Linked DNA regions of Homo sapiens: all the other regions are linked to region 3. Evidence: promoter capture Hi-C in human tissues and cell types (Jung and others, 2019). All regions are on one chromosome and are shown on one strand. Each heading gives the region's core, a stretch centred on a gene start or on the middle of the fragment in contact. The rest is flanking DNA. Distances are from core to core; before and after follow the strand shown. Region 1 overlaps LOC124906097 (a long non-coding RNA gene). Region 2 overlaps SCRN3 (secernin 3). Region 3 holds the start of CDCA7 (cell division cycle associated 7).

What was found. Contacts are between HindIII fragments. The study calls those that stand out against the background at their distance.
Region 1: a fragment that was not itself captured here is called in contact with the fragment with the promoter of CDCA7 in region 3 in 1 of the 25 tissues and cell types used here (lymphoblastoid cells).
Region 2: a fragment that was not itself captured here is called in contact with the fragment with the promoter of CDCA7 in region 3 in 1 of the 25 tissues and cell types used here (lymphoblastoid cells).

Annotation. Positions count from the first base shown.
Region 1 is chr2:174,519,627-174,522,326 of GRCh38, forward strand. LOC124906097 (a long non-coding RNA gene) reads right to left here. Exons shown (of 3, transcript XR_007087309.1): 3 at 1,597-2,700. Among named protein-coding and RNA genes, the nearest start is that of GPR155-DT, 34 kb to the left of the region's middle. The HindIII fragment of the contact is 3,674 bases long and covers 1-2,700 here.
Region 2 is chr2:174,398,052-174,400,751 of GRCh38, forward strand. It overlaps SCRN3 (secernin 3), which reads left to right. Exons shown (of 8, transcript NM_024583.5): 2 at 224-391; 3 at 1,871-2,052. The coding sequence starts at 233. Among named protein-coding and RNA genes, the nearest start is that of SCRN3, 3.7 kb to the left of the region's middle. The HindIII fragment of the contact is 4,447 bases long and covers 1-2,700 here.
Region 3 is chr2:173,353,446-173,356,145 of GRCh38, forward strand. It overlaps CDCA7 (cell division cycle associated 7), which reads left to right and starts at 1,427. Exons shown (of 10, transcript NM_031942.5): 1 at 1,427-1,539. The coding sequence starts at 1,519. RefSeq lists enhancers at 471-1,426, 729-818 and a silencer at 1,369-1,638. The HindIII fragment of the contact is 8,581 bases long and covers 1-2,700 here.

The DNA.
Region 1 (2,700 bases), core at 182-2,681, 1.2 Mb after region 3:
CAGCTCAAGAATGTCTGACTCCTCATGATTATTGGGTCTCAGCTCTCTTCTCCTTGCCTGACCACCAATCTGAACGGGCTCCCCACTTCCTGTCCATCATGTTAGGTCACATCATCCGGCTTTGCTCTCCTCTTGGCTCTGATCTCAACCCCAATATGTCTTGTTTACTGTTAACCCTCTGAGTACAAGCCCTCTGAGATTAGTGAGTCTGTCCCATTGGTTCACCCCTGTATTTCCAGGTCCTAGAATGTCCCAGCACATAAGAGGGACTCAATAGCTCTTTGTGGCATAAATGAACTAAACCATTCATAGATTTATTCTCTTTTGAAATAAAAAGGAATACACTGTCACAAAATGTATTCACTGTCACAAAATGCATTTGCCATGTGCCTATTCTCATGGTTTCACTTCTTAGGGTTTTGCCAAAGAATCTGCTCTTAGGGGTTGCATTAGGTTCACTGTCACAAAAATGCATTTGTATTCACAGTCACAAAAATGCATTTACCATGTGCTTATTCTCATGGTTTTACTTCTTAGGGTTTTGCCAAAAAATCTGCTCTTAGGGGTTGCATTAGGTTCCAATGGCTGCTATAACCAAGTGGCACAAAATGAGTAGCTTAAAACAACAGAAATGTATTCTGTCACCATTCAGGAGGCCAGAAGTCCCAAATCAAAGTGTGGGTAAGCTTAGTTCCTCCTAGAAGCTCCGAGGGAGAAACCTCCTCATGCCTCTTTCTTAGCTTTTGGCGACCCGGCAATCCTTGGTGTTCCTTGCCTGGTGGGTGCATTGCTCCAATCTCTGCCTCCGTCTTCACATCACTTGCTTCTCTGTGTGTCTCTGTGCTTGCTGTTTTGACTCTTATAAAGACAATCATTAGATTTACGGTCCACTCTAATCCAGTGAGGTCTCGTCTTGATCCTTAACTAATAACATCAGCAGTAACTCTATTTCTATACAAAGTTGCATTCTGAGGTTCTGCATGGATATGCACTTTTCAGAGACACTACTTGCCCCACGCTAGAGCTTTAGAATACAACACAGAAACTTACAATCTACTCTTGCTGTAATGTAATGCACATACGTTGTTTTTTCGGTGGCCAGCAACCAAGAGCACCCTTCCCAGGAGTACCCCAATTTCCTATTGCATCTTCCAGTTGGAGGACAGTCTTGATCGGAATGTAACTCAATATTTCTCATCTCCTCTCTGCAACCAAGGAGCTACATGTGACCCAAAGTAAGACAACTGGACTCCTGGGATAACTTCTTTTCCCAAATGTATGCTATTTTATGTTTTGGCAAACTTTCAAGAGAGCTTTCATTCCATACTAAATTTCCTTTTTTTTTTAGAGAGAGAAGATCTCTGTCAGTCACTCAGACTGGAGTACAGTGGTGCGATCACCACTCACTGTATGCAGTTTTGAACTCCCTGGCTCAAGCAATCCTCCCACCTTAGCCTCCCAAGTAGCTGGTACTACAGATGTGCACCACCACGCCTGGCTAACTTATTTATTTATTTATCTGTAGAGACACTGTCTCACTATGTTGCCCAGGCTGGTCTCGAATTCCTGGACTCAAGTGATTCTCTTGCCTTGGCCTCCCAAAGTGCTGGGATTACAGGCATGAGCCACTGCACCTGGTCTCACATATTTTTAGTACTATAAATCTGTGAATGCCCAGCAAACATCAAGCAGACTGTACTCTTGGAACTTTTCATCTTGAGTGGAGGCGCATAAGGAATGGGAAAATATTGGAACACATATACTGGAGGAGCAGCACCCAGATAAGATCCTTCAGTTGTTCATGCTGCCTGGACTCCAGGAATTGCCTTCATTCCTGTCTTGTGTCCTGATTTGGCTCTCCAGCCTCCCATCTATCCTGAGTTCCTAGCTAGCACCCTGTTAAAAGTCTCTTTTTGCTTCTGTTAGTCAGAATCCATTTCCATCATTTGCATCCAAAGACATTCAACTATTACACCGAGATCCAAGATTTTTTTCAGCACTGTCGCTGTTTTGCATATTTAGCTCTGAGTTCTGACATGCTGAGTTTACTACTATATGAGATACTACCTTCAAAATGTCAATTTCATCCAAACCCACACATTAGTGCAATTACAAGACAGTACATTAGCATTATTATTAATTTATTTATAACCCAGCTTGTTCCAAAAGGATTTCATTGTGTTAAATTATCCTACAGAGGTATGGCAAGAAAAAAAACATTTAAAATAAGGAACAAAAATGAAACAAAGGAAGAATAAGAGGTAGAAAAGTGAGATGAAGCCACAAGAGAACCTAATCCATAAAAATGGTTACTGCCAAGGCTAGACAATAGGTAGGGGAAAGATGCAGTATCGTGAAAAGGTCTGCAGGCTACAGTTGTTGCCATGGTATTTGGCAACAATATTTTCTATTTTTCATAGTTCCTTCTCAACCTGAATTTCTGTTAAAAGCTTGCAATCTCTCGACATTGAAATGGGACCATGAGATAATTAAGCAGTTGCCAAATGGGAACTAACTGAATAACAGAAAAGAATACATTTGCTTAAAGTCTTTACGTTATTACTTTAAAGATGGTAAAAACCCTGAGATATCTGCTTTAATCTTCATCTCTCTTTCTTTCTCTTTCTTTTGTTTTTTTTGGTTAATATTAGTCAAAACCTGGAAGCTGCAGTGCCTTATTTCAAGTTATGATTTTTTAAA
Region 2 (2,700 bases), core at 22-2,521, 1.0 Mb after region 3:
CAGGAGTTCCAGGCTGCAGTAAGCCCTGATCATACAACTGCACTCCAGCCTGGGTGAAAGAGCTAGACCTTGTCTCCAAAAAATAAAAATAAAAAAATCAAAGCTTTAATGAACATCCTTAATTAGATATGGCAATAATATCCTTTGGTCATTGAGTAAAACTCTTTATTTTTATATACTTAAAAGTGTTCTTTTTATTTTAAAACATCTGTATAATTTTTAGTTAAAAAAAATGGAACCTTTTTCCTGTGACACTTTCGTGGCATTACCTCCAGCAACAGTCGATAACAGGATTATTTTTGGAAAAAATTCAGATAGACTCTATGATGAAGTACAAGAGGTGGTTTATTTTCCTGCTGTAGTTCATGATAACCTGGGAGAACGTCTTAAGGTAGGTGAAATAAATGTTTTGTTAGCAATATGCCTTTTAAAAATATCATAAAGTTATTTCTATACATAGCAATTTGGAAGAAACTGTAGAAGTTAAAATTGAGGAGTTTACATTTGAAAAATAAATGAGTCAGAAATAAACTGTGATCTTTTATTTCAGTGATTCGGAGGACGTTGAAATAACAATAATAAAATTATCCATTGTTTGAATAAATATTTGAATGCTTTCCATATGCAAGCATGTTAGATAGGGCAAGAGATTTAAAGTCAGCTGTCAAGACTCTGTTCCAGGAGCTTAGAGTCTAGTATAGCAATAAGATGTGTATGCATTATACCCCATTATAAAATAGGATGGTTTAAATGCTAAATTTAAGTAACAGTAGCATGCTGTGGCAGCGGAAGAGAATGAACATTTAATTCAGCTTGGAGTTAGCTGGAATTTGATGGACAAAAAGGATTCTGATTCTGAATTGGCTTAGGTTCTACTTGATGTAGAATAGGAAAGTCATCCCAGACTTTAGGAATGACAGTTTTATGACACATCAAAAAAGGTTTATTAGGCCCTATGTTAACACTATCAATATACATTTTATGCAGTCACTTGGTAGTATACACATTAATTAAAGGATCCTTTAAAAACTTATTTTAAAAACCCATTTAATGTGGAACTTAAAATGAGAGCTTCAAATTATGCTATTGTTGCTAATTCATACTTTTTAGATTTTATTTTATTGATATTCTAATATTAAAACATATTAAATATTAGACTTTTTTCTGTATCCTATGCCATATTTTTTTCTTTTGCTAAGACCACTTATTCATCTGTGATACCACTTCCACTTTATTTCTTCATATTTAAATATAGCCTGTCCTGTAAACCAGTGGTTCTCATTCTTTTCATTGCTGTGGGCATACCTAATGGTTGACTTCAAAATGTGATGTGAGATTCCTATGACAAAACTCTTGTATTCGAAGGCTACCATGTGAGTAATTATATCACTAATCAAGAAACACTGGATATTGAGGTTGAGAACTACTTCCTTAAGCTTCAACTCACACATCTACAAAAATGTTTCAAGATATTACAGCTAGAGACCATCTTTCTCCTGAGCTCCAATAGCACCTTGTCTTCACTTCATGACCCTAATACTTTATACTTTATTTTATCTTAATGTAGAAGTTTTAGTTTCTCAAAAGTGAGATCTTTATCTGATTCATCTTTGTAACTAACATATCTCTTGGCAGAATGTTTTATAATAGGAAATGCTCAGCAAATATTTGAATGAATAAATATTTTAGGGTTATTCTGAATATGTTTTAAGGGTAATGCCTTTATTATTGAAAATTTCAATTTACTTATATTTCCTTTACCTCTTTCATAACAGTTTTGTCTTCTGACTGATTTTTTTAAATTCTGGATTTTGATAACTTTTCTGGTTTTGTGGTTCTTGCTATGACTTTTTTTTTTTTTTTTTTACAGTGTACATATATAGAAATTGATCAAGTTCCTGAAACATATGCTGTTGTCCTGAGTCGCCCAGCGTGGTTGTGGGGGGCAGAAATGGGAGCCAATGAGCATGGAGTTTGCATTGGGAATGAAGCTGTATGGGGAAGAGAAGAAGTTTGTGATGAAGAAGCACTATTAGGAATGGACCTTGTCAGGTTATTTTTTGTTACATTTTATACTACAGACCTTGTCTAAATTTATAATTTTTGTGTAACTCTTACTTGTTTTATTTTCCTATTTTTGAGGGGGCTTTGATACTTTGCAGTTTGTGTCAAAATGGTTTAAAGTACCGGCATGCAATTTCATGACTCTCAGTTTTGTTTGGTTTTTTAAAATTAATTAATTTTTATTTTTTTGAGATGAGATCTCACTGTGTCATGCAGGCTGGAGTATAATGGTGTGATCATGGCTCACTGTGCCCTTGAATTCCTGAGCTCAAGCAATCATCCCACCTAAGTCACCCAAGTAGCTTGGATCAAAGGCACGTGCCACCACACCTGGCTAATTTTTAATTAAAAAAAATTTTTTTTTCAGAGACTAGGGTCTTGCTATGTTGCTTATACTTGTCTTGAACTCCTGGCCTCTAGCCATTCTCCTGCCTCAGCTCCTGAGTAACTGGGATTACCAGCACAGGCACCATGCCCAGCTTTCAGATATTATTATTTGGGAGAAGGGAAGAAGTAGGAAATTATAATTCATTGGAAGTACCTAACATACTTTAATCACACCTTAACTAATTCTCACAATAACCTCATGGGCTATCGTGCTCATTTTACAAATGAGATATCTGAGGTTCAGAGATA
Region 3 (2,700 bases), core at 177-2,676:
AATTATTTTCTTGTGCTCCCAGGAAGACTAAAAATTTCCCTATCAGAACCTTTCACAGGCAAAGTGACTTAATCTTCCCCTGCTTCATGGATCTAGTAATTCCAAATTTTCATATATTTAGCTTTAGTGGCACAAAATTATATTCCCAAATGTTTATTCATTCAACAAATACTTACTGAGGGCCCTGTAATTCCGTAATTTCACCACCCACCGATAGCCTCTCCTCCTGGCACTCACCTTCTAGACCTTGAGCTCTTTGTCCCTTGCACAGTGGCAGAGTGATTACTGGGTAGGTATATTTAAGAAAGGCTGGAAGACTCCTTCCAATCCATTGTCCTCGGGCATTATTTACTTGCTCACAGTTTTTGTATTCAGTACACCAAGAGAGGAACACAGTATGTCCATGCACTCTCTTACTGCAAAGGAATTAATTATTCCCCAGAGAAAAGTTTTGAAATGAGGGGGAAATGCGAATGTTTTCATTTCAAGCGCTTGTTTTAAATGTTAAGAGTATAATTAGTGTCTTCTAAAGAAACTAAATTTACTTTTTCTTGTAGAAGCAAGTTTTGCTCTTCACGCACACAAAAAGCCTCGCTTTATTTCATTTTTTCGTTGTAATGCCAAGTTTGGTTAAAAGGGCAATGAAAAGTTTTCTCGTTCGCACTGACTCAGGGTAGTTCTCAATTCTGAAGACAGAGAAGATCATCAAGCCACAATTGTTCAATCTTTAGTTTCAATCCCCAACAGATAATCGTTAAAGGTTAACTATACTATAGACGTCTTCATCAAGCTGCTGCGGCTTTTCTTCTACTTTGAAAACCACAAGTAAACAAGTCGGCTTCCTGTGCTTTTTGGAAAGAAAGATCAGGATTTAACTCATTTTATTGCTTCAGATAATGGTGTGGTTCCCAGATAAGAGGTGCTACATCCAGGGGCGGTGAACTCGATTATGAAGGGTGGAGTTCGTGCTGGATTCTATGATTTTTTAAATCTTGTAAACCGCACGCAGCAATGAAAGTGCTAAACGCCATGGTGCGTGACCCGCGCCACCCTCACGCTGCTCTCCTTTACCCCCCAGACTCCACTTTTCCTCCGCCACCACGAAAATTCTTGCAAATCAGACAGCTAACCCCGGGGCAATACGAACCATTTTCGCGCCACTCGCTCAGGACCGCGCAGCTGCACAAGGAGAGTGGTCCCCGTAGCCCCTAAAGCCCCCCTTTCTCAAAGGGGATTTTAGGAGTGCCCAAGGCTATCCTTTGAGGTCAGAATATATAGGGGGGTCGTGTTTTTTCCAGGGGGCCACCTAGTCTTGCGCCATGTCTGGCCGTTACCACAGCTTGCAGGACCTGTGTCCCAACGCGGGAAAGACAGCCCGAGCCCCGCCCCTCCGGGCCCGGGTCGGCGCGCCCAGCCTGCCAGCCGCGCTGCTGCTGCTCCTCCTGCTGTGGGACCGCTGACCGCGCGGCTGCTCCGCTCTCCCCGCTCCAAGCGCCGATCTGGGCACCCGCCACCAGCATGGACGCTCGCCGCGTGCCGGTGAGGGCTGGGCGGGCGAACCCGAGGGGCGGGCGCGGTGGGTGCTGGACGCAGGCGGGCGCGGGCCGACCCTCTCCAACTCCGCAGCCTAGCGCTGCCTTAACTGGTGGCCTGCCTAGGCGTTGCCCGCTTGGGCAAGCCCCTGATTTTGTGCACCTGGGATAACTGAGGGCCATGGGGACGTTCCTGCGTGGCGTGCGCACCCGAAGTGCGGGCGGCGTGGAGACTTGAGTCGTTTGCAGGATGGCTAGCAGCGCTGGAAAGCCCTAGGCACGTGCGTCCGCCAAAGGCCGGACAGCGGCCGGGAGCGCTGGCCGGTCCCGATTTTGCCTGCCAGGCAGAGCCAGCCTGCCTGCCCCCTGGGAGGTTGTCCCGCAGCGGCCCAGCCCTTTCCCGCACACAACTCGGAGCCAGTGCGTGGCTCGCCGCGTCTATACCCGCGCTCAGTGGGTGGCCCTTGGGCGCGCACCCCGCCCGGCAAGAGACGCGTCCGCTTCTAACCGCTGAGGGCCAGCGCGTCTGAGGTTTAAGGTCTTGCGAACCGGTCTCCTAGAACTTGGGCTGCGCACGCAGTGTGAAGCGACCGTAGTCCCGGGCGGTGGTTAAGTGCATTTAAAGGGCTTGGTGGGTCAAAGCGTTCGCCGACCATTTGCTCGTTTCCTACTTCCTCCACCCCAACCCCCAACCCCCCACCCCCCACCCCCCAGCCTTACTCTTAGCTGCAGGACGTTGCTCTGAGTGGAACGTTACTTTTTGCTCTAACGGAAGCCAGAACGTAGGGTCGGGCTCCTGGAGAGGGTAGAAGAGTGGGGGTTGGGTGAAACGGAAGACAATGACATGTTTAAAATAAATATCAGGGGTTAGGGACCCTCGCGGGGGTGGGTGCGATGGGGCGTGGTTTCAGAGCTGAGTCGCCGCCCCGGTGGAGCTGGGCATTGGCTTTCCGGATGAAGAAAACCATGTGTAGCTGGTCTTGGAACCTGACATGCCTGAGTTCAAATCTGAGCCACCATGGGACTTGAGTAATCCATTTCGCTTTCCTGAGCCTCAGTTTCCTCATTGGCTAAGTGAGAATAACGATAGCACCTTTGTTGCAAAGAATTAAACCTGACGTGAAAGTGTACTTAACATAGTGCCTGGCACGAAAAACGCCTACTATAA